Regions from separate parts of the Homo sapiens genome. Here regions 1, 3, 4, 5, 6 and 7 are each linked to region 2. The links are contacts of gene promoters, found by promoter capture Hi-C in blood cells and fetal thymus (Javierre and others, 2016). All regions are on one chromosome and are shown on one strand. The core of a region is centred on a gene start or on the middle of the fragment in contact, and the rest is flanking DNA. Distances in the headings are between cores, read along the strand shown. Region 1 has its middle 12 kb from the start of ZNF774. Region 2 holds the start of CRTC3-AS1 (CRTC3 antisense RNA 1). Region 3 has its middle 27 kb from the start of ZNF774. Region 4 has its middle 5.7 kb from the start of ZNF774. Region 5 holds the start of NGRN (neugrin, neurite outgrowth associated). Region 6 overlaps GDPGP1 (GDP-D-glucose phosphorylase 1). Region 7 has its middle 27 kb from the start of NGRN.

Region 1 (3,121 bases), core at 354-2,853, 350 kb after region 2:
TAGTCCTAGCTGTTACTCAGGAGGCTGAGACAGGAGGATTGCTTGAGTCTGGGAGGTTGAGGCTGCAGTGAGCCATGATCGCACCACTGCTCTCCAGCCTCAGCAAAAGAATGAGACCCCATCTCTAAAAAATAATAAACATATGTAAATGGCATCAAACAGTAAAGAGTTGTTGAATCAGAAGAAGACTAACAAGAGGCCTTCAGATGTGGAAATTAAGTCTTTTTTTTTTTTTAAGAGACAAGTTCTAGCTCTGTCACGCAATCTGGAGTACGGTGGTATGATCACAGCTCACTGCAGCCTTGAACTCCTGGGCTCAGGCAATCCGCAATCCTCCCACCTCAGCCTCCCAAGTACTTGGGATGACAGGCGCACATCACCATGCCTGGCTAATTTGTTGAAACTATTTTTTGTAGAGACAGGGTCTGGCTATGGTGCCCAGGCTGGTCTTGAACCTCTGGGCTCAAGCAGTCCTCTGGCTTCGGCCTCCCAAAATGCTGGCATTACAGGTGTGAGCCACCACACTCAGCCCTAAAAGACCTTTGAGGGTCCAGTTGTAGAAGCATGCTAGGGTAAGTGGCCCTATTAAAAAGGCCTAGGCATGATAACCCTGAGAATATCTACATGTGAGTGGAAGTTTGACAAAAGGGGAAGAGAAGGAATGCGATGATAGGGTCTAGGAGGAATTATTTCGAGGTAAAAGAAGGGTTAGGGATCTTATCTTTTTGTTGTGGTGCCTGCCCTGGTGCTTGGTGATAACGACTCGCTGGAGACCTACTGCGTGCTGGGCACTGTGCTAAGCCCTTTACATCATGGATTGTCTCAAAGCCTTTAGTTTTTTTCTCCGTAATATGACCTACACACAGCGGCCAAATTGACCTTCTCAAGTGCGGATCGCGCCTCTCCTCTCCTATAAAACCACTAGCTACACCCTTTTCTCCAGAGAGTAAGATCCAAACCCTTTAGTTTGGCAGCTAAGAACCTTCTTGGTGTGACCTTCACTCACCTGTCCAGTTTTGTCTCACTCTGCTGCTTTTCCAGCACAATGAGATCCTTGCCCATGAGCATGCACTCATTAATTCATCCAGTAAACACATATTGAGCACCTACCATGTGCCAGGCACTGTTCTAAGTGCTGTGGAAAGAATGGAAACAAGAGAAATGACTCCCACCTTTCGTGGAGTTTACCAAAAACAAATCAATTAATAAGAAATTGCCAGACAGGTGTAAGGACTTTGATGAAAAAAGAGGATAATGTGATGGAGGGTGACTAATTTAGATGGGATAGTTAGGGAAAGTCTTCCTAAGGAGATAGGTTTAGGCTGAAACCTGGTTGACAAATAGGAGGCAACACAAAGGACTGGGCGAGGAACATTCTGGGCAGAGGGAACAGTTAGTACCAAGGGTCTAAAGAGCACACAACCTTGGCATGACCAAGGAGCAGAGAACTCAAGAGTGCTGAGGTGAGGCAAGGGAGAGGGAAGGGGATATCACAAGAGGATGGAGGGGGAGGGGACAAAACCACAAGGGCCTCTTAGGCCTGGGTAAGGATTTGGGTCTTCATTCTAAAAGCAATGGAAAGCTGCTGAGAAGTGATGTGATTCGATTTAGGATTTTAAAAGTTCACTCTGGTTTCTGTGAGTGAAACCAGTTTTTTCAGAGCAAAAATCATATCAGGAAGATCAGTTTGGAGGCTGCTACAGGAATTCAGGTAAGAGACTGGTCATTTGGTACTGAAGGGTGGCAGTGAAGATGGACAGATTTGACAGATAGGTTCGAGAGGAATCTGGGAGGTAAAATTAATGGGGCTTGGTGATGACCTCAATTTTGGAGTGAGAAAGAACGGATGTGTGGAGCATGTTCAAGCAGTGAATCATCTAGTCATGAGGTAGAAACAAAAGAAAACTATAGAAAGGGTTACCTCCACTCTCAGCAATAGCATTGAAATATTCCCTGCTCATGGCTGGCGGGGGAGTGGGGGGGGGTGGGCAGGAAGACAGGGAGGAGGGAGGGGATTGGCAGGGCCACAAAGCAAATCTCACATTGCCCTTCGAGAGCTCACATTTTACCATAGCCAAACAACATGAAAATCAAAGTGATAGGTGGCCAGGTGAGGTGGCTCTCGCCTGTAATCCCAGCACTTTGGGAGGCCAAGGCAGGTGGATCACCTGAGGTCAGGAGGTCAAGACCCGCCTGGCCAACATGGTGAAACCCCGTCTCTACTTAACATATAAAATTAGCTGGGCATGGTGACATGCATCTGTAATCCCAGCTACTCCGGAGGCTGAGGCAGGAGAATCGCTTGAACCTGGGAGGCAGAGGTTGCAGTGAGCCAAGATCATGCCATTGCACTCCAGCATGGGCAACAGAGCAAGACTTCACCTAAAAAAAACAAAAAACAAAAAAACCCTCACATCTTACAATAGCTGAACAACATGAAAAACAAACAAAATGATAGGTGGCCAGGCACGGTGGCTCACACCTGTAATCCCAGCACTTTGGGAGGCTGAGGCAGGCAGATCACCTGAGGTGAGGAGTTCGAGACTAGGTGTGATCTCAGCTCACTGCAGCCTCCATTTCCTGGGTTCAAGTGATTCTCCTGCCTCAGCCTCCCAAATTGGTGGGATTACAGGCACATGCCACCACACCTGGATAATTTTTGTATTTTTAGTATAGGTGGGGTTTTGCCATGTTGGCCAGGCTGGTCTCAAACTCCTGACCTCAGGTGGTCCACCCGCCTCGGCCTCCTAGAGTGCTGGGATTACAGGTGTGAGCCACTGCACCCGGCCTGAATCTGCATTTCTAAAAAGTTCCCAGATAATGCTGATGCTACTGGACTGGGCTCACAGTTTGAGAACCACTGCACTGGATTAACTAAAAAAAATTTTCTGGTCAATTATCTAATGATGCTTTCAAAAACTGAGGTAAGGTTATCAGCTGAGTTCTATCCTTCATGAGCCACAGCACTCAGATGGCATTCCATATAATGGAAGAGAATGAAAGAAAAGAAACCTTTAATCCACCACTTTGCACTCTAAAAAGTGATAACTACCCAGCTCCCTCCTTAACCCCTTGCATTTGCGCTCACTCCTCCACCCCCATTCCACCAGGATCAAGGACC
Region 2 (3,110 bases), core at 425-2,924:
CTGCACATCTAACACTTTTCCTGATTTTTTAACTCTTGGTTTCCTCAGTAAAACGAAGGAAATAACTACTTCTCCAGGTTACTGATAGGACTGTAAACTATACTTATAAGGTACCTGTCATGGTGAGTGGCATTGAAAGTGACACAGGACCCAGAAATTTCATTTCTTCCCAGTAGATTATAAGCTACTGTCTGACAGTATAAGCAGCCCAGCTAACAAAATGTTGATTTAATTAATTCTATTTACTATTCCCCAAACAGAATACTTTTGCCTACCCGCTTCTTCATCTTCTGATCTCTCATGCAGTCTCTCGAATTCCTGTCCCTTAATCTTGACAGTGACACACCAGTGTTATTTATCTGCATGGGTGGCACAAGGAGCTGTCAGTCACCTGCTCCATCTCACGCCATGAGGTACCTAAAGTTCTGTGTGACCTAAGGACAGGTGAGGGCTATAGGAGAAAGCCTAATGTTGTGGGACATACTTTAAAATCAGGCGCTTAGTTCAAATCCTGTATCTCTAGCACTTAATCACCAAATGCTCTTTCTGTACGGAGACAACCTCTTTGTACTTCAGATTCTCCATGTCTAAAATGGGGACAATTTCATCCGCTTCTCTGGGTAATGATAACAGAACCCTTACTGTGTACTATGTAACAGGTAGCCTTCGAAGCATTTATTATTGCATATATTAAGTCGTTTAATCCTAACAAAAACGCCAGGAAGTAGAAGAGACCATTTCCCCCATATGACAGACGAAAACCAAGACACTTAGTGTTTCAGTAACGTGCAGTAGACACAGAGCTAAATGTGAAGGAGCCAGAATTCGAACCCAAGCAATCTGATGCAGTATTCTTAAGCACTTCGCTTTGCTGGGATATCGTAAAGCTACAGTTGTAAGATCAAGGGTGCCAGGAACATGGCACACAGTAGACACTCAAAAACAAGAGTAGCCCAGCTCGTGATTATGGAAGGCCACAGAAAAAGTACAAAGTGTTTTCGTTGTTCCTCAGGAGGGACACGGAGGTAGTAGTGCCAGAGGTCTGGGCTGGGATTACTCTGTGCAGGGCATCATGTTACGCACTGGAGTATATGGGCAACAACATGCCAGGTCCTAGCCCATGCTCGGCCTCCGACGCCCCGGGAGACCTTGGCAGAGTTCGCCCCCGCCCCGGGCCTCTGTTTCCCCATTTGGGAACGTATTTATGTATCTGCTGTCCTCCCAGGATGTTGGCCAGACTAGAGGACTCAGCGGGCCGAGGCGAACCAGTGCAGGAAACGGAAGAACCCGAGCGGCCTCCAGCTCCGGGCCGGGCCGCCAGAGCAGGGCTAGATCAATGCGGACCGACCCGTAGTTACGCGCGCGGTACTCACCTCGCACGCAGACTCCTAGCGGACGGAACCAGGATCCAAACTTCCCGCGCCGCAACCACGGCCGCCGCGCCAAGCCCTGGCTCACTTCCCGCCGGAAGCTTGCCTATTCCGATTGGCTGCTTCCTGGGGAAGCCGACCAATACTGTCGCACTCGGACATCTGTTCCCGCCCCCTCAGGCTGCTGGGGCGGGGTCGCCGTACAGCGCCGGGAGGGACGCGTATCTCCAAAGCCCAATCAGAGTCCGGACGGGAGGGTCAGATGACTACGGTTACATCTCGGGCTTCCGGAGCTAGTTGGGTCTTTGTTTTTGGTGTTTTAGAGTCGGTGAAGGCTTTAAAGGAAGTAGGCAGCTGGAACCCGGCTGTGGCGGGTTGAAAAGCCCGGGCGTTTGAGAGCTGAGACTTGCCAGTTCCCACAGGCCAAGCCAGGCGTCTGCACCCCATTCTCTTGGTTCCGACGGTGTGTCTCTGCGATGTTTTGGCGGTCTCTCCTCTCCATCCCCTTAATAATACTGGTCTCTGTTTCACCCGTACCCCTCTACACGAGCAGGTGCAAATTGTCATTGAACCGGGAAAGTGGGCACACACTCAGATGCCTCCATGGACACGTGAGAAACCATGCTTCTGTTTCAGCCTATTGCTGACACGCGGGAATGTGGGCCCTGTGATGCCAGATCTTACTTTCTTTCCTTTCTTCCTCTCTTCTCCCCTCTCTACTTCCTTCCCTCTCTCCTTCCCTCCCGCCCTCCCTCCTCTTTGTGTGTGTGATAAAATCTATCTAACATAAAATTCACCATTTTTAAGTGTACAGTTCACTGGCATTAAGTACATTCACATTGTTGTGAAACCATCACCACTATCCATCTCCAGAACTTTTTCATTATCCCAAATAGAAAATCTGCCTGTTACACAGTAACTCCCCGTTACCCGTTTCTCACAACCCCTTATAGCCGATATTGCACTTTCTGTCTGTAAGTGCGAGGTACCGCATATAAATTGAATCATACAATAATTGCTCTTTTCTGATTGGCTTATTTCACTTAGCATAATGTCTTCAAGGAGCATCTATGTTGTAGCATGTATCAGAATTTCTTCCTTCTTGAGGCTAAATAATATTCCATTATACATGTATACTACATTTTGTTTATCCATTCATCCATATAAATGGATGCTTGGTTATTCCCACCTTTTGGCTATTGTGAATAATGCTGCTATGAACTTTGGTATACAAATAATCATTCTCCACATAATACGCAGAAAGAGTTTTCTAAAATGTAAAAATCTGTTCAAGTTACCTCCCTCCTGAAAATCTTCTATGGTAAATTGAAACCAAAATATGATACTATTAAACACTCCATAGAATAGCTGAAATGAAAAGACTGACAATTCCCTTAGTTGCAAAGATGCAGAAATGGGACTCTCATACAGTGTTGATGGGAGTGTAAAATGGTACAACCACTTTGGAAACATCAGTCTCTACTGAAATCAAATTTACCCCTACCCTATACCCCAGAAATCCCATTTCTAGATATTTACCCCAAAAAATGAATGCCTTTATTCACCAAAAGACTCATAGCAGCTTTATTCATAATAGCCAAAGGGAAAAAACCCAGATGTCCACCAATAGATGAATAGATAAATTGCAGCTTATTCATATAACTGTATACTACTGTTGAAGAATAATTTTAATATCAAATATAATACAGATATAAAATAAATGTTAGAGATTTTATTTAA
Region 3 (2,979 bases), core at 112-2,611, 390 kb after region 2:
CAATTGTAGTTGCTATGCGTATGGTGGCTCAGTTCAGCTGGGCTCAATTCCTGGTGCTGATTGTAATGCTACTTTGGGAAGCTAAGGAAGGGGGATTGCTTGAACCCAGGAGTCAAGGCTGTAGTGAGCCATGATTGTGCCACTGCACTCCAGCCTGGGTGACAGAGCAAGACCTTGTTTCAAAAAAAAAAAAAAAGGAAGAAATGATTACAACCATCGATTAGTCATTAGTGCCATGCCTTAGCTGAGAACTTCTTCTCTGGGCCATTCTGCAGCCCTCTGGAATGGCTTTAGGACCTGGCTACCAGGCTCCCCTTATCCCAGTGTCTTGCTCTCATCCTCAGTGGCTTCAGCATACTTATTTATTTTATTATTTTTTTTGGTGGGGGGACGGAGTTTCGCTATTGTCGCCCAGGCTGGAGTCCAATGGCACGATCTCAGCTTGCTGCAACCTCCGTGTCCCGGGTTCAAGTGATTCTCCTGCCTCAGCCCCCTGAGTAGTTGGGATTATAGGTGCCCGCCACACACCCAGCTAATTTTTTGTATTTTTAGTAGAGATGGGGTTTCACCACGTTGGCCAGGCTGGTCTAGAACTCCTGACCTCAAGTGATCCACCTGCCGTGGCCTCCTGAAGTGCTGGGATTACAGGTGTGAGCCACCGTGCCCGGCCTCATCCTTATTAATTACAGCACCACCACCTGTGCTCATGGTCCCTTTACCTCCTCTGCTCCAGTAACCTCGAAAGGCCAGCCACATCACAGAGCTGCTTCCATTTCAGCCTCTCAACTCCATCTCTCCTTTTCCCTTAGAATAACTGGGGCTGCCCATTATCCTTGCCACAGCCTCCTCTGCTTCCTTGCTTATTGTTCCTTTTCTACCTCCTCCCTCAGTCTGGACTCCACGGTCGGCTCTTCAACCATGTTCCTGCTAGTGGCTTACGGTTCCTGTTCTCCAACTTTCTAATCTACCTACTGTGTCATCCCCAAGCAGGGGATTCCCTGCCATCTACTTCTGCAACTCTCAGGCTGGCAGAAGTGGCCTCCATGCTGCCCAGTCAGAAGGGCCTGTGTGGCCAACACAGCTGCCGCCCCAGTTCCATCCTTCATTCTCTTTCCTTCCAGTTGTCCAGGCCTTGCCATCTGACTGGCCTGGAGAGTAGGGAAGAGATGGGGAAAACAAAGGAGGGGTGCAAACATCTGGAGCTCAGTGCCCTGGTCTGCTCAGCCTGGGGGAGATTCTCCTCCCTCCTCTTCCTCCCCTGCTCTGTTCCTTCACCTTCTTCCGCCTTGAGGACTCCCTGATTCCCTTATATATCCATGAAAACTTTTACATCACTAAATAAATTGCCTTTTTTTTTTTAAATGAAGTCTCTCTCTGTTGCCCAGGCTGAAGGGCAGTGGCATGATCTCGGCTCACTGCAACCTCCGCCTCTTGGGTTCAAGTGATTCTCCCACCTCAACCTCCCGAGTAGCTGGGATTACAGGCGTGCGCTACCATGCCTGGTTGACTTTTTTTTTTTTTTTTTTTTTTTGGATTTTTAGTAGAAACAGGGTTTTACCATGTTGGCCAGTCTGGTCTCAAACTCTTGACCTCAAGAGATCTGCCCACCTGGGCCTCCCAAAGTGCTGGGATTACAGGTGTGAGCCACCATGCCCCAGTGAAATTGCTTAATTTCACAAACATTTTGAGAGTCAACTGGGAACTGTCAACCTAGAAGGAAGCTGAAGCAAAATTAATATAAGTAGAGAATTTATCTGGGGCTGGGCATAGTGGTACACTCCTGTAATCGAGGATTCTGGGAGGCTGAGTTGGGAGGATTGCTTGCCAGGAGTTTGAGAACAGCCTGGGCAGCATAGTGAAACCCCATCTGTACAAAAAATTTAAAAATTAGCCAGGCATGGTGGCTCATGTCTGTAGTCCCAGCTACTCAGGAGGCTGAAGCAGGAGGATTGCTTGAGCCCAGGAGTTCGAGGTTATGGTGAGCTAAGATCCTGCCACTGCACTCCAGTCTGGGCAACAGGAGCAAGACCTTTTCTCTTAAAAAAAAATAAATAACAATAGTAAGACAGAGGATCTATTTGGGCCAAGCTAGATATTGCAAACTGGGAGCATAGAGTCAAGTTACCCTCAGTATACATCCTGATTAGCAGCAGTTGTGAGGCAGGAGGCAGGCCTGTACTCCAGGCCAGATTGAAGACTAGCTGAAACAGGGAAGAGGGGAAAGCACCTCTCCATAACACATGCCCACCAGTGCCATGTCAGTTTACCAGTGCCCTGGCAACACCCAGAAGTTACTGCCCCTTTCCATGGCAACAACCTGGGAGTTATACCCTTTTCCTAGAAATTTCTGAAAAACCCATCCCTTAATTTGCATGTAATTAAAAGTGGGTATAAATATGACTGTGGAACTGCCCCTTAGCTGCTACTCTCCACACACTGACTATGGGCTAGCTCTTCCTGCAGGAGCAGTTACAGAGCGGTAACACTGCTGCCTCAATAAAACTGGTTTTGGTGGCGGGGCGTGGTGGCTCACACCTGTAATCCCAGCACTTTGGGAGGCCGAGGTGGGTGAATCACCTGAGGTCAGGAGTTCAAGACAAGCCTGACCAACATGGTGAAAATACAAAATACAAAAATTACTAAATTATTATTATTACTAAAAATAATAGCCTCCCAAGTAGCTGGGATTACAGGCATGCACCACCACCCCCTGCTAATTTTGTCTTTTTAGTAGAGACGGGGATTTCACCATGTTGTCACCTTGGTCTCGAACTCCTGACCTCAAGTTGTCCACCTCACCTTGGCCTCCCAGAGTGCTAGGATTATAGGCGTGAGCCACCGCGCACAGTCAAGAAACCTCTTTTCTACAAATAAATAAATAAAAAATTAGCCAGGTGTTGTGGTGCCCATCTGTAGTCCCAGCTACTCAGAAGGCTGAGGTGGGAGGATCGCTTGAGCCCAGGAGGTCAAGGCTGCACT
Region 4 (3,019 bases), core at 108-2,607, 370 kb after region 2:
CATCTCTGTCTAACCTGCTCTTTCTCTCTGGTGCTCCTCATCTCACCCCTACCTTGGAATTTAATAAGCTTCAGGCATTTCCAATTGCAGACTAAAACCACTTCTACCATCTCCTCTAGTATTTTCCATGTATCAGGACAGAGATGTCTTATGTAGGGAAGGGGCAGGTATGAAGTGAGGTAGATTATCTATACCTCTCACTCATTCAGGATTCTCGCTCCCATGCTGCTGTCCCTTCATTCTCACACTCACAGGAATGCTATGTGATGGCCAGCTGCTTCCCTTCTTGGTTATCCACTGCAGCTGCTAGTTAGAAAGGTTTGCAGGGATGACTTTTAGTAAATCATGGGGATTTTATTGATTTATTATCACTTATAGGATTTTGTGGGGTGGGAGTGGGGAGCAGGAATTGCACTCAGACATGACATTTCAATTCATCTCTGCAAATGAAAAGGGTTCTTCCTCTTGGGGGAAATCTGTGTGTCAGTTCTGTCAGCTGCAAGTTCTTGTGTAATGAAGTCAATGCTGTCAGGCCAAGTGAAGGGAAAAGAGAGATCAGACTGTTACTGTGTCTATGTAGAAAGGAAAGACATAAGAGACTCCATTTTGAAAAAGACCTGTACTTTAAACAATTGCTTTGCTGAGATGTTGTTAATTTGTAGCTTTGCCCCAGCCACTTTGACCCAACCACTGTGACCCAACTTGGAGCTCACAAAAACATGTGTTGTATAAAATCAAGGTTTAAGTGATCCAGGGCTGTGCAGGACGTGCCTTGTTAACAAAATGTTTACAAGCAGTATACTTGGTGAAAGTCATCGCCATTCTCTAGTCTCAATAAGCCATGGGCACAATGTACTGTGGAAAGCTGCAGGGACCTCTGCCCTTGAAAGCGGGGTATTGTCCAAGTTTTCTCCCCGTGTGATAGTCTGAAATATGGCCTCGTGGGATGAGAAAGACCTGACTGTCCCCCAGCCCGACACCCGTAAAGGGTCTGTGCTGAGGTGGATTAGTAAAAGAGGAAAGCCTCTTGCAGTTGAGATAGAGGAAGGCCACTGTCTCCTGTCTGCCCCTGGGAACTGAATGTCTCGGTATAAAACCCGATTGTACATTTGTTCAATTCTGAGATAGGAGAAAAACCGCCCTATGGTGGGAGGCGAGATATGTTTGCAGTAATGCTGCCTTGTTATTCTTTACTCCGCTGAGATGTTTGGGTGGAGAGAAACATAAATCTGGCTTACGTGCACGTCCAGTCATAGTACATTCCCTTGAACTTAATTATGACATAGATTCCTTTGCTCACATGTTTTTTGCTGACCTTCTCCTTATTATCACCCTGCTCTCCTACTACATTCCTTTTTGCTGAAATAATGAAAATAATAATCAATAAAAACTGAGGGAACTCAGAGGCCGGTGCCAGTGCAGGTCCTTGGTGTGTTGAGTGCCGGTCCCCTGGGCCCACTGTTGTTTCTCTATACTTTGTCTCTGTGTCTTATTTGTTTTCTCAGTCTCTTGTCCCACCCGACTAGAAATACCCACAGGTGTGGAGGGGCAGGCCACCCCTTCACCAAGGAAATGAAATAATTGCTTACCTTAAAAAACAAAACAAAACATTTGCCAGGTGCAGTGGCTTATGCCTGTAATCCCAGCACTTTGGGAAGCTGAGGCAGGAGGATTGCTTGAGCCCAGGAGTTCAAGACCAGCCTGGGCAACATGGCAAGGCCTCGTCTCTACTAAAAATAAAAAAATCAGCTGGGTTTGGTGATGCGTACGTGTAGTCTCAGCTACCTGGGAAGCTGAGGTAAGAGGATCACTTGAGCCTGGGGAGATTGAGGCTGCAGTGAGCCAGGATGGCACCACTGCACTCTGGCCTGGAAGACAGAGTGAAACCCTGTCTCAAAAAAAATTATTTTATTTCTGTTGATTAGGAATCTGGAACAGCCTAGGTGAGTATCTCTAATTGAAGGTCTCTCACAAGGTTGCAGTCTAGACACTGGCTGGGACTACAGTTATCTGTAGGATTGACTGGGGCTGGATGATCAGCTTGCTCCCAAGCTCCCTCATGTGACTGTTTCCTCACGTGTAGCTTCTCCTCACAACGTGTCAGCTGGCTTCCCCAGGGTGAGTGATTGAGAGAAAGAAGCAGAAGCTGCAATCTAACCTTGGAAGTGATAGACCATCATTTCTGCCATACTCCTTTGGTCACACAGACCAACCCTGGTACAGTGTGGGAGGGGACTACACAAAGGTATGAATACTTGGAGGCAAGGATCACAGTGAGTGTATTAGTCTGGGTTCTCCAGAGAGAAAGAATCAATAGGATATATAGATATAGAGAACCAGGGAAGCCAGTAGTGTGAGTCAGTTTAAGTTCAAAGGCCCAAGAACTTGAGGGGCTGCTGGTGCAAGTCCTGAAGTCTGAAGGCTGAAGAACCTGGAGTTCTGATGTCTAACATCAGGAGAAGGGTGTCCCAGCTCAGAAGAGAGAGAGAGAAAATTCGCCTTTCCTCTGCCCTTTTGCACTATCTGGGCCCTCAGCTGAGTGGATGCTACCATCCACCCTGGGTGAGGGCAGATCTTCCTTATCAGTCTACTGATTTAAATGCCAGTCTCTTCCAAACACACTTACAGGCATAACTATAAAGCTTTCTCAGCTATCTGGGTATTCCTTAATCTAGTCAAGTTGACACCTGAAACTTTTTTTTTAGAGACAGGGTCTCACTCTCTTACCCAGGCTTCCATGCAGTGGTGTGATCATAGTTCATTGCAGCCTCAAACTCCCAGGTTCAAGTGATCCTTCCACCTCAGCCTCCCAAGCAGCTAGGACTATAGGCATGTGCTACTGCACTTGGCTAATTTTAAAATTTTTTATAGAGAGGGGGTCTTGCTATGTTGCTGAGGCTGGTCTTGAACTCCTGGGCTCAAGTGAGCCCCCTGCCTCAGTCTCCCAAAGTGCTGGGATTACAGGCTTGAACCACCACACCCAGCTGACACCTAAAATTAACCATCATAGTGGGCCACC
Region 5 (3,060 bases), core at 232-2,731, 450 kb after region 2:
GGACGAAGTGGGAGGATGGCTTGGGCCCAGGAGGTAGAGGCTGCAGTGACCGGTGATCACATCATTGTACTCCAGCCTTGGCGACAGAGTGAGACCCCCAACTACCAAAAAAAAAAAAAAAAAGTACCCACAGGAGAGTGGGTGGGACAAATAATTCTCAATGTGTATACCATGTTATACTGTTAGGTTGAGCCATATGTAATACTTTACCTACTCAAAACAAAAAAACTTAAAAACTCTTTTAAGCTTTCCTAAATTATAGATCCTGTCTTCAGAAAAATGCACCTACCTATGGAAGCACCAGCATCCCTGTACCTTAGGTTGGGAACGTCACAACCTACATTCAAGGGTTAAATGTTGTGATGTCTGCGATTTACTATTTAAAAATTTCAGTAAAAATGAACCAACCACGTCATAACGTTAAAAACTATTAAAACCAGGCGGGGCGCAGTGGCTCATGCCTGTAATCCCAGCACTCTGAGAGGCCGAGGCGGGAGAATCACTTGAGGTCTGGAGTTCGAGGCGATAGCGAAACCCCGTCTCTTTAAAAAACAAAACAAAACACTATTAAATCTAGATAATGACAGGGTTAGGGAAGTTCGTTATATTACTCTACTTTTCTGATAATAAATTTCAACGACAAAAAGTAAACGAAAATATAAAAGCAGTATCAAAAAAGCCAAACCCGTTTCTGGGCTCCAGCATCCTTCACTTCTCATCACAGCGGATACAAACAAGGTATCCTGAGTCTCACCGTATCTGCTCCATGGCTTCCCACGTCAGGGTCCTGGGCGGGGCACCAGGCGCCTCCATTTGCCTCCGAATTTTCTGGAATCGGATTGCTTGTTTCTGTCGTTTCAGGGTGCTGGGGGAAGAGAACCAATGGCAGAAGCCATGCGTGGAAGCAGAATGGATGTTTGAAGAGCCTCAGGCTAAATCATGGAGCGCCCAGCCCTCTTCTCTTTGATCGCAAGGGCAACCGGGCCATGTTGCCGGCTTAGAGCTGCTCCGTACACCCAGAAAGCTAACACCTAGAACAATAACTGCCTGTAAGCATGCCGAACTCTCTAAACTGATGATGAAATACGTCACTAATGAAGGGACCAGTGGTCCCAGGGGAGCTGAACACCTGACGCTGCGCCCCTAACAACGGGTAAGAAGAAACAAGGGCCGCTGCGCAAGCAGCGGCAGGACACCCGGCGCCAAGGGGGCGCGGCCTGGAGCGCCGGGGCACGAGGCCCTGCTTCAAGCTGAGGGCCCGGGGAGAAGCCGGTACCTCTCCACCTCCTGCAGCTCCCGTTCCTCCGGCTCCCAGTCGGAATCGGGGTCCGGCTCCCGGCCAATAGGGCCTGGGCCCGCCACCCCCCGGGTCGCGAACCCACAGCGAGTGACGGCGGCGCAAACGCGCCCGCCCAGCAAGAGACTCAGGGTAACCGCCATGTCGACGCAAACCAGCCTTCAGCAGTCGGCTACGAAACAGCAGCGGAAGTAGCCGGGTAAGACCGGAAGTGGAAGGGGCGGGCCGGAGGCTGGGTAGTAGCAAGTTATTTCCCGCTTCACTTGGTGGGGGTAAGATCTGGGCTCACGCTGCTCAGTGGCCCACCCTTTCTGCCTGTAACTGTGGAGAGGGCTTCCCTGAAACGTGAGGGCCGAAATGAGGTACAGGACGCTCCTGGAAAACTGCATAAACTTTAATTAAAGTACGGATTCCGTTTCCAAGAGCCGTCCCTCCGCCCCAGCGGCTGCCCAGGCCTGCCTGTCTCCGCCACCTCGGTGGGCAGGGCTTCCGCTCGGCAGTCTTCTGACGGCGACAGCCCAGTGCCTTGGGCACTCGGCTTCTCTGGGAAAGGGGCTCATTGTCTCCTGGATGGCCTCCAGCCCCGGGCCGCACCTAGGGTTCAGACCCATCACCTAGCGATAAACCCAGGCTAAGGCTTGATGAGCAGAAATGAGTACATGGCTGGCCTTGGCGCCTCTTCATCTTCTAGTCTTTACCGATCCCCAATTAATCTTAGGGTATTGAGGAATTCTTGGTGTCTTTGTATTTTGCCTTATACAAATGGGGTTCCTGGGCAGGGCTTTTCAAAGTGGAACTTGGTGGCAGTCATTCATTTAGCAAAGATTTAATGCCCTTTGGAAACCTGGGGAGGTTATCCAGGAGAGGTAGAGTGCTTCCCTCCTGCTTTTACCTGAACTGATTGATGTTGAGGAGTGCTCTGGAACGCTGCAGCATGGGTGCAGACGCAGGGCAGAGGGGAACCTTGGCTGCTCTGTGTTCAGAGTTTACCATGGAGGGCAAGGTGCATTCAGTCCATGAGTCAGATGCCACTCTTTCCGGTTGCAGAAAATAGCCCTGCTTTGGGGTTAAAGTGGGTGGCACTGATCCTGCCAGGACTCGGTTTATGGCTTCTAGCCTTCTGCTGGCTTGTCCTTCTGCAGTGGAAACATGGATGTCCCTGAGTTGGTATTCACAGAAGAGATTTGTTCACCTCTTTCCCAACTGTGGCCCAATTACCAACACAGAGGAAGGGCATCTCATGCTTCCCTCCACTGTCTTTCCCACACTGTATTGTAATTGGTATGGTATGTCTTTTTGTCCATGTTCCTATTACCTCTTGAGTGCTGGGACTGTATTTCTGCCATTTCTATCACCAGGGTCTAGTGTACAGAAAGGATTAAATAGGCCTGGTGCGGTGGCTTACACCTGTAATCCTAGCACTTTGGGAGACTGATTCAGGTGGATCAGGAGTTCAAGACCAGCCTGGGCTACGTGGCAAAAACAAAATATACAAAAGTTAGCCGAGCATGGTGGTGTGTGCCTATAGTCCCAGCTACTCAGGAGGCTGAGTCAGGAGAATTACTTGAGCCCGTGAGTGGAGTTTGCAGTGAAGTGAGATCAAGCCATTGTACTTCAGCCTTGGCGACAGAGCGTGACCTTGTCTCAAAAAAAAAGGAGTAAATAAATGGGTACCCTAACTTCCCCATTCTTACACTGGTGGAAGTGCCATATTATATTTTAGGGGCATCCAAGCTCTATGCTTGCTAGTGGGATTTACATAT
Region 6 (3,256 bases), core at 173-2,672, 480 kb after region 2:
AAAGCTTTTCCATGTTCCATAGTGATTCCAATTGGTCATGCATAGAAACATTTGGGTGAGGATGGCACTGATGTGTGGGTAAGTGTCCAGGGCCAACCTTTCAAGGGGGAAATTAGTGCCTGTCTTCATCTTCCCCTGGCTGCCTGGAGCCCTGGACCCAGCACTGTCAGGGAGAGGGGTCTGCCACTGGCCCAGATAGGATGTCAAAAGGAGGCATTACCTTAGTAGAGTCACTTCAGTCCAAGTTTGGGTTCCTTCAGCTCTGCTGCTCCAGAAACTTCATGTTAATAAAACAGAAAGGAAACAAAACATATAAAAAATTACATATCAAAAGTCAAGCTAAGTTTAATGAGTATTGAGGCTTAGTTTGCAAGATGAAAACGTCCTGGAGATTTGCCGCACAACATCGTGAATGTGCTTAACACGACTATACACTTAGAAATGGTTCAGATGGTCAATTTTTTTTTTAAAGACAGAATCTCACTCTGTCAGCCAGGCTGCAGTGCAGTGGCACGATCTTGGCTCACTGCAACCTCCACCACCCAGGTTCAAGTGATTTTCATGCCTCAGCCTCCTGAGTAGCTGGGACTACAGGTGTGTGTCACCACGCCCGGCTAATGTTTGTATTTTTAGGAAAGACCAGGTTTCACCATGTTGGCCAGGCTGGTCTCGAACTCCTGACCTCAGGTGATCCACCTGCGTTGGCCTCCCAAAGTGCTGGGATTACAGGCGTGAGCCACCGCACCTGGCCAAAAATGTTTAAAAGTGAAGCTAATCCTTTGAGCTGGAGCTGCAAGGTAAAAGACAACAACAACAAAAAAGTGAAGCTAAGCATAATTTTGATGATCAAATGTAGTATCTTATTCTCACCTTACTGCAATGTCTGCCTCCCAGACTCAAGCAATCCATCCACCTCAGCCTCCCAAGTAGCTGGGACCACAGGCACTTGCACCAGGCCTGACTAATGTAGTATCTTATTCTAATAAAAGAGAATCTTATCTGACAGGCGAAAAAATTTAAAATGAGATAATAAAAATAATACAAAACCAAAAAAAGGAGAAAAAAAAGAGATAATCTTAGACATTTTTTCAAATAAGATATAAAGATGGCCAACAAGCACATTTGGGATGTTTAACGTCATTAATCAATAAGAAAAGGCAAATCAAAATCACAATGAGGGGCTGGGTGCGGTGGCTCACACCTGTAATCCCTGGACCAGCACATTGGGAGGCTGACGCAGGTGAATCACGAGGTCAAGATACCGAGACCATCCTGGCCAACATGGTGAAACCCTGTGTCTACTAAAAATACAAAAATTAGCTGGGCGTGGTGGTGGGCACACACCTGTAGTCCCAGCTACTTGGGAGGCTGAGGCAGGAGAATCACTTGAACCTGGGAGGTGGAGGTTGTGGTGAACTGAGGTGGTGCCACTGCATTCCAGCCTGGTGACAGAGCAAGACTCCATCTCAAAAAAAAAAAAAAAAAGGGAAAAAAAGAAAATTACAATAAAGTCCGGGCACGGTGGCTCACGCCTGTAATCCCAGCACTCTGGGGGGCCAAGGTGGGTGGATCACGAGGTCAGGAGTTCGAGACCAGCCTGGCCAATATGGTGAAACCCTGTCTCTACTAAAAATACAAAAAAATTAGCCAGGTGTGGTAGTGGGCGTCTGTAATCTCAGCTACTCGGGAGGCTAAGGCAGGAGAATCGCTTGAATCTGGGAGGCAGAGGTTGCAGTGAGCTAAGATCGCACCACTGCACTCCAGCCTGGTGACAGAGTGAGACTCTGTCTCAAAAAAATAAATAAAATAAAAAATAAAAGTATATCAGCAGCTCGGTTTTATCACTGTACCAAGAGTTGATCAGGTACAGGAGGGACAATATGCTAACCAGATTCACCGAGGACTACCAAATGATTCAGACTGCCCATTTAATAATCTACCATGAGAGGCCGGGCGTGGTGGCTCAGCACTTTGGGAGGCTGAGGGAGGCGGATCAAGAGATCAGGAGATCGAGACCATCCTGGCCGACATGGTGAAACCCCGTCTCTACTAAAAAAAAATACAAAAATTAGCTGGGCGTGGTGGTGCACTCCTGTAATCCCAGCTACTCAGGAGGCTGAGGCATGAGAATCAGGTGAACCTGGGAGGCAGAGGTTGCAGTAAGCCAAGATCATACCACTGTACTCCAGCCTGGTGACAGAGTGAGACTCCATCTCACAAATAAAAATAATTTACAATGAGAAATATGCCAAATGGCACAAAAGGTTCTTGCTGGCTGGTCAGTGTACAAAATGAATCAGGAAGCAAAATGAAAACCAAAGGTTGTTCCATGAAGGGTTCAGAGCCAAGTGAAGTGACTGAGAGATCTAGATCACAGCTGGTCACCAGGCACAAAGCTGACTCTCATGTCTTCACTATAAAGAGATACTTATGGCTGGGTGCAGTGGCGCACGCCTGTAATCCTAGCACTTTGGGAGGCCAAGACAGGCGATCACCTGAGGTTGGGAGTTCGAGACAAGCCTGACCAACATGGAGAAACCCCGTCTCTACTAAAAATACAAAACTAGCTGGGTGTGGTGGCACATGCCTGTAATCCGAGCTATTCAGGAGGCTGAGGCAGGAGAACTGCTTGAACTCAGGAGGCGGAGGTTGCGGTGAGCTGAGATCATGCCATTGCACTCCAGCCTGGGCAACAGGAGTGAAACTCTGTCTCAAAAAAAAAGAAGACAGATACTTATTACCATGCAGTCCAGGTATTCGCCTTGGCTTGTAAGAGGCAAACAAGGTCTATTTAGTACAGGAGACATAATGACAGCTTCTTGCTTTTTGCCTAAGCTTTTACTAACAGAAGACTAACTCTTTCTCGGACAGAAAGAGCCTGCTATTAAGAGAAAAATGATCGGCCGGGCACGGTGGGTCACGCCTGTAATCCCAGCACTTTGAGAGGCCGAGGTGGGCGAATCACGAGGTCAGGAGATCCAGACCATCCTGGCTAACAGGGTGAAACCCCGTCTCTACCAAAAATACAAAAAAATTAGCCGGGTGTGGTGGCGGGTGCCTGTAGTCCCAGCTGCTGGGGAGGCTAAGGTAGAAGAATGGCGTGAACCCAGGAGGCGGAGCTTGCAGTGAGCCAAGATCATGCCACTGCACTCCAGCCTAGGCGACACAGCGAGACTCTGTCTCAAAAAAAAAGAGAAAAATGATCAGGTTGGGATGGGCCTATACCCTAGTTATTTTTTTTTATTTTTATTTTTTG
Region 7 (3,028 bases), core at 1-2,500, 420 kb after region 2:
CTGGGATGTTCGGCATGGGCTGAGGCGCCTCCTCCTCCATCTCCTGTGGGGGGGTGGCCAGAGGGGTCCTCAGACAACCCAACAAGGGAGGTACTGTGGGCTCACCTCTGCCCCCACACTCACTGTGTAACCTTGAGCCAGCCCCTCCCCAGAGGGGAATGAGCTGTTCTTTATTTTTACTTTTAAGAACCAAGATCTTGCTATATTGCCCAGGCACAGTCCCACTACCGATTGGTGCAGGAATTCTGACCTGCTCCATTTCTGACCTGGGCCAGTTCTCCCATCCTTAGGCAACCTGGTGGTCCCCCGCTCCCAGGAGGTCACCATATTGATGCCAAACTTAGTGCAGACACCCAGTCAGCATAATGGCCAGCTGTCTTAAAGGTCTCTTCCATCTCCTCAATCCTACAGTGCTAACAGTCCCCCTTTCCTCCTGGGGCTCTCTCCTCTTCCTCTGAGTGGTGTCCCGTACCTTCCCCAGGGAGAGCCATGAGGCTCAACTGGGCCTGTAGTTGCTGGTTCTGCTGGCTGGTAGCTTCCAGGTGCTCCTGAGATGCCAGGAAAGAGGGTGAGAAGGCACAGAGGTTGCCAGGTTGTCCCTCTTGGGGCCCCGTCCTCAGCAACTCCCTCCCCTGGGTCTCCTGCAACTTTTGGCGGGCCATCTTAGCCACTGCTTTGCCCTGAGCTTCCTGCTGCTGCAGCTGGTCCAATGAGCCGGGTCTGCAGCAGTAACTGCCTGTGCAGCGCCTCCTTCTCAGAGGTCAGCTGCTGATAGGCTGCCACCTGCTGCTGATAAGTGGCCACGTACTGCTTCAGGTGACCCAGGTACTGGCCTCGCTGCTGCTGCAGACTCTGAGCCTCTTGGCTCTTCAGCTCCACCTGCTGGAAGTCCCTGGGCATGAGGGCAGCTGGTGGCTGGCTTCCAGATTCCTGGCCCATTAATAGGGTAGTGAGGGCACTGTGGGGCTCTGTGGCCTGCCCAGGCCCCTGGCCCCTTGCTCCAGGCCTAAGAGACTGCCTCCCTTGCCTAGAACCCCATGCCTCCTTCCCCAGCCTCAAATCTCACGTTCTTCTTCCAGCCATTTAAACTGTAGGCCACAGACTGGTGGAAAAGCAGAGGGAGCCAACCACCATCTGCTAAGTGTGCTACATGCCTAATGTTTCCACGTATTATCTCATTTAACCCTCGGCACCTCTGCGAAGAAAAAGCTCACTTCCTTTTGAAGTTAAAGAAACAGAGACTTAGAGATGGAAAGTAGTTGAATGATGACCAGTGGAACCGAGGCCGGAATCCAGTTTGAATCTAAGGAGTCGTTTTGGTTTTTTTCATATTTTGTTTTGGGACAGTGTCACTCTGTGTCCCAGGCTGGAGTGCAGTGGTGCGATCTCAGCTCACTGCAACCTCCACCTCCTGGGCTCAAGTGATTCTCATGTCTCAGCCTCCTGAGTAGCTGGGATTACAGGCATGCACCACCATGCCCGGCTAATTTTTTTTTTTTTTTTTTTTTGTAATTTTGTAGAGATAAGGTTTTGCCATTTTGGCCAGGCTGGTCTCAAACTCCTGATCTCAAGTGATTCTCCTGCCTCAGCCTCCCAAAATGCTGGGATTACAAGTGTGAGCCACTGCACCTGGTATAAGGAGCCTCTTATGCCACTGTCTCTTCCTCTGTGATTGGAGGGCTCCATGCCTCTAGCTGGGATGATGATGTCCAGACCTGGGAGGAGCCAGGGCTACCCACCTCTAAAAGTCAGAGGGCAGGAAGCAAGAAACAGTCATAGGACTGCCCTGGAGGGTGCTGGGGTCACCTGCCCCCAGGCTGCAGCTGCCTCTGGCCTGGCACCTCCCCTCCCCAGAGGCTGGTGCCCGCCTCCCAGACCTTCTTGGACGGGTCGGAGGTTACCGTCCCCTTCAGCTAGCCCAGCTTCTCCTGCAGCTCCTTTACTTGCTGCTCCAACTGCAGTGCGCTCTTGTTCTCGTTCTGGACAGAGAGAAGCAATCAGCAGCCACCCGCTGCAACTGGAGACCCCAGAACTTGGTGTCTGCCTCCCATAGCACTGGGAAGGGTGGAGGGAGGTTAGAAAAATCATCCCCTCTCTCCCACAGCCATCAGAGCAGGGCTCCGGCTCACAGGTGCCTTAGAAGTACCATTTCATGTGAGGGCTACACTGCCCCATTTTACAGGTGGGGAAACAAAGGCCTGGCGGGCTAGGGAGGAGGGCTGGGGTTGGGGGGCCCAGTCCAGTGTGCCTCAGGGGTGGTATGGACTCCGGCAACGGTCTTGTTGTCGGAGGGGATCTGTGGCTGGGTTGGGGGCCATGACCTGGTGCGTTTTACCTTTTTCCTGGCTGCGGCCCATTTGCCCTGTCGTGTTTTTTCTGACATCATGGGGTGTGGAGGGAGGCGGGGTTGGGCCACATCAGTGAAATCCCAGTGAGCACTGATGAATGCCTCCAGTCACCTACCAGGCAGCTGTGCAACTGAGCCAGAAGAGGCATAACCGGGGCCCCACTAGAATGCAGAATAGGGGCGTGGCCTTAATGCTCCAAGCCCATTGGTCAATGAGAAATATGAAAGGGAAAGGAGGCGTGGCCAGGTAGCACCGTGTCCAGAAGGACCTGTGGTTCACAAGGAAAGCTGCCCATGCAACCGCTGTACCCGACCACTCAGAGAGAGGGAGGGGCCGCCCACTCAGAGGGGAGGGGCCGGCTTTTGCTTTAAAACCTTTAAAACTGTAAAAAATAAACTTTAAAAAATGTATGTGTGTATTCTTTATATATATGTGTGTCTGTGTGTGTGTATCTACGTGTTCCTCCAGAGCTGTCTCCATTATCCAGCTTCTATGCAAGGTCTATAATTTTGGCCTATATTTTTCATCTTCAAATGGAGTACAATAATTACCAGTATTACCTTAACTGAGATACAGATCCTATAAAAATGGAAAATCCATAGCATGCTTGATGATTAATGAAGCAGGCTATAGTATCCAACATTCCAATAAGATAAAATAATCACAATGATTTCTCTTTT

What was found. The method cuts DNA at HindIII sites, captures the fragments that hold promoters and counts their contacts. A CHiCAGO score of 5 or more calls a contact.
Region 1: a contact is called between a fragment that was not itself captured here and the fragment with the promoter of CRTC3-AS1 in region 2, in 1 of 17 cell types (activated CD4 T cells). The highest score is 5.2, in activated CD4 T cells.
Region 3: a fragment that was not itself captured here is called in contact with the fragment with the promoter of CRTC3-AS1 in region 2 in 6 of 17 cell types (total B cells, total CD8 T cells, erythroblasts and 3 more); the score reaches 9.5 in total B cells.
Region 4: a fragment that was not itself captured here is called in contact with the fragment with the promoter of CRTC3-AS1 in region 2 in 1 of 17 cell types (activated CD4 T cells); the score reaches 6.0 in activated CD4 T cells.
Region 5: a contact is called between the fragment with the promoter of NGRN here and the fragment with the promoter of CRTC3-AS1 in region 2, in 6 of 17 cell types (total CD8 T cells, erythroblasts, naive CD8 T cells and 3 more). The highest score is 7.4, in total CD8 T cells.
Region 6: a contact is called between a fragment that was not itself captured here and the fragment with the promoter of CRTC3-AS1 in region 2, in 2 of 17 cell types (fetal thymus and non-activated CD4 T cells). The highest score is 5.2, in fetal thymus.
Region 7: a fragment that was not itself captured here is called in contact with the fragment with the promoter of CRTC3-AS1 in region 2 in 1 of 17 cell types (erythroblasts); the score reaches 5.2 in erythroblasts.

Annotation. Positions count from the first base shown.
Region 1 is chr15:90,363,194-90,366,314 of GRCh38, reverse strand. No RefSeq gene overlaps it. Among named protein-coding and RNA genes, the nearest start is that of ZNF774, 12 kb to the right of the region's middle. The HindIII fragment of the contact is 7,636 bases long and covers 1-3,121 here.
Region 2 is chr15:90,715,704-90,718,813 of GRCh38, reverse strand. CRTC3-AS1 (CRTC3 antisense RNA 1) reads left to right here and starts at 1,674. Exons shown (of 4, transcript NR_120372.1): 1 at 1,674-1,833. BLM (BLM RecQ like helicase) reads right to left here and starts at 1,468. Exons shown (of 22, transcript NM_000057.4): 1 at 1,374-1,468. The HindIII fragment of the contact is 2,609 bases long and covers 1,474-3,110 here.
Region 3 is chr15:90,323,890-90,326,868 of GRCh38, reverse strand. No RefSeq gene overlaps it. Among named protein-coding and RNA genes, the nearest start is that of ZNF774, 27 kb to the left of the region's middle. The HindIII fragment of the contact is 8,593 bases long and covers 1-2,979 here.
Region 4 is chr15:90,345,106-90,348,124 of GRCh38, reverse strand. It overlaps the pseudogene GABARAPL3. Among named protein-coding and RNA genes, the nearest start is that of ZNF774, 5.7 kb to the left of the region's middle. The HindIII fragment of the contact is 2,574 bases long and covers 71-2,644 here.
Region 5 is chr15:90,264,093-90,267,152 of GRCh38, reverse strand. It overlaps NGRN (neugrin, neurite outgrowth associated), which reads right to left and starts at 1,481. Exons shown (of 3, transcript NM_001033088.3): 1 at 1,277-1,481; 2 at 755-865. The coding sequence starts at 1,440. TTLL13 (tubulin tyrosine ligase like 13) reads right to left here. Exons shown (of 15, transcript NM_001396017.1): 15 at 1,676-2,433. The coding sequence ends at 2,186. It also overlaps a transcript of CIB1 not described here. RefSeq lists enhancers at 527-1,497, 1,291-1,520, 1,881-2,010, 1,498-2,469. The HindIII fragment of the contact is 8,147 bases long and covers 249-3,060 here.
Region 6 is chr15:90,235,513-90,238,768 of GRCh38, reverse strand. GDPGP1 (GDP-D-glucose phosphorylase 1) reads right to left here. Exons shown (of 4, transcript NM_001013657.3): 3 at 221-277. It also overlaps a transcript of CIB1 not described here. Among named protein-coding and RNA genes, the nearest start is that of GDPGP1, 2.9 kb to the right of the region's middle. The HindIII fragment of the contact is 2,831 bases long and covers 7-2,837 here.
Region 7 is chr15:90,291,352-90,294,379 of GRCh38, reverse strand. It overlaps the pseudogene GOLGA2P8 and the pseudogene RN7SL736P. Among named protein-coding and RNA genes, the nearest start is that of NGRN, 27 kb to the right of the region's middle. RefSeq lists enhancers at 163-663, 664-1,164, 1,008-1,167. The HindIII fragment of the contact is 3,738 bases long and covers 1-3,028 here.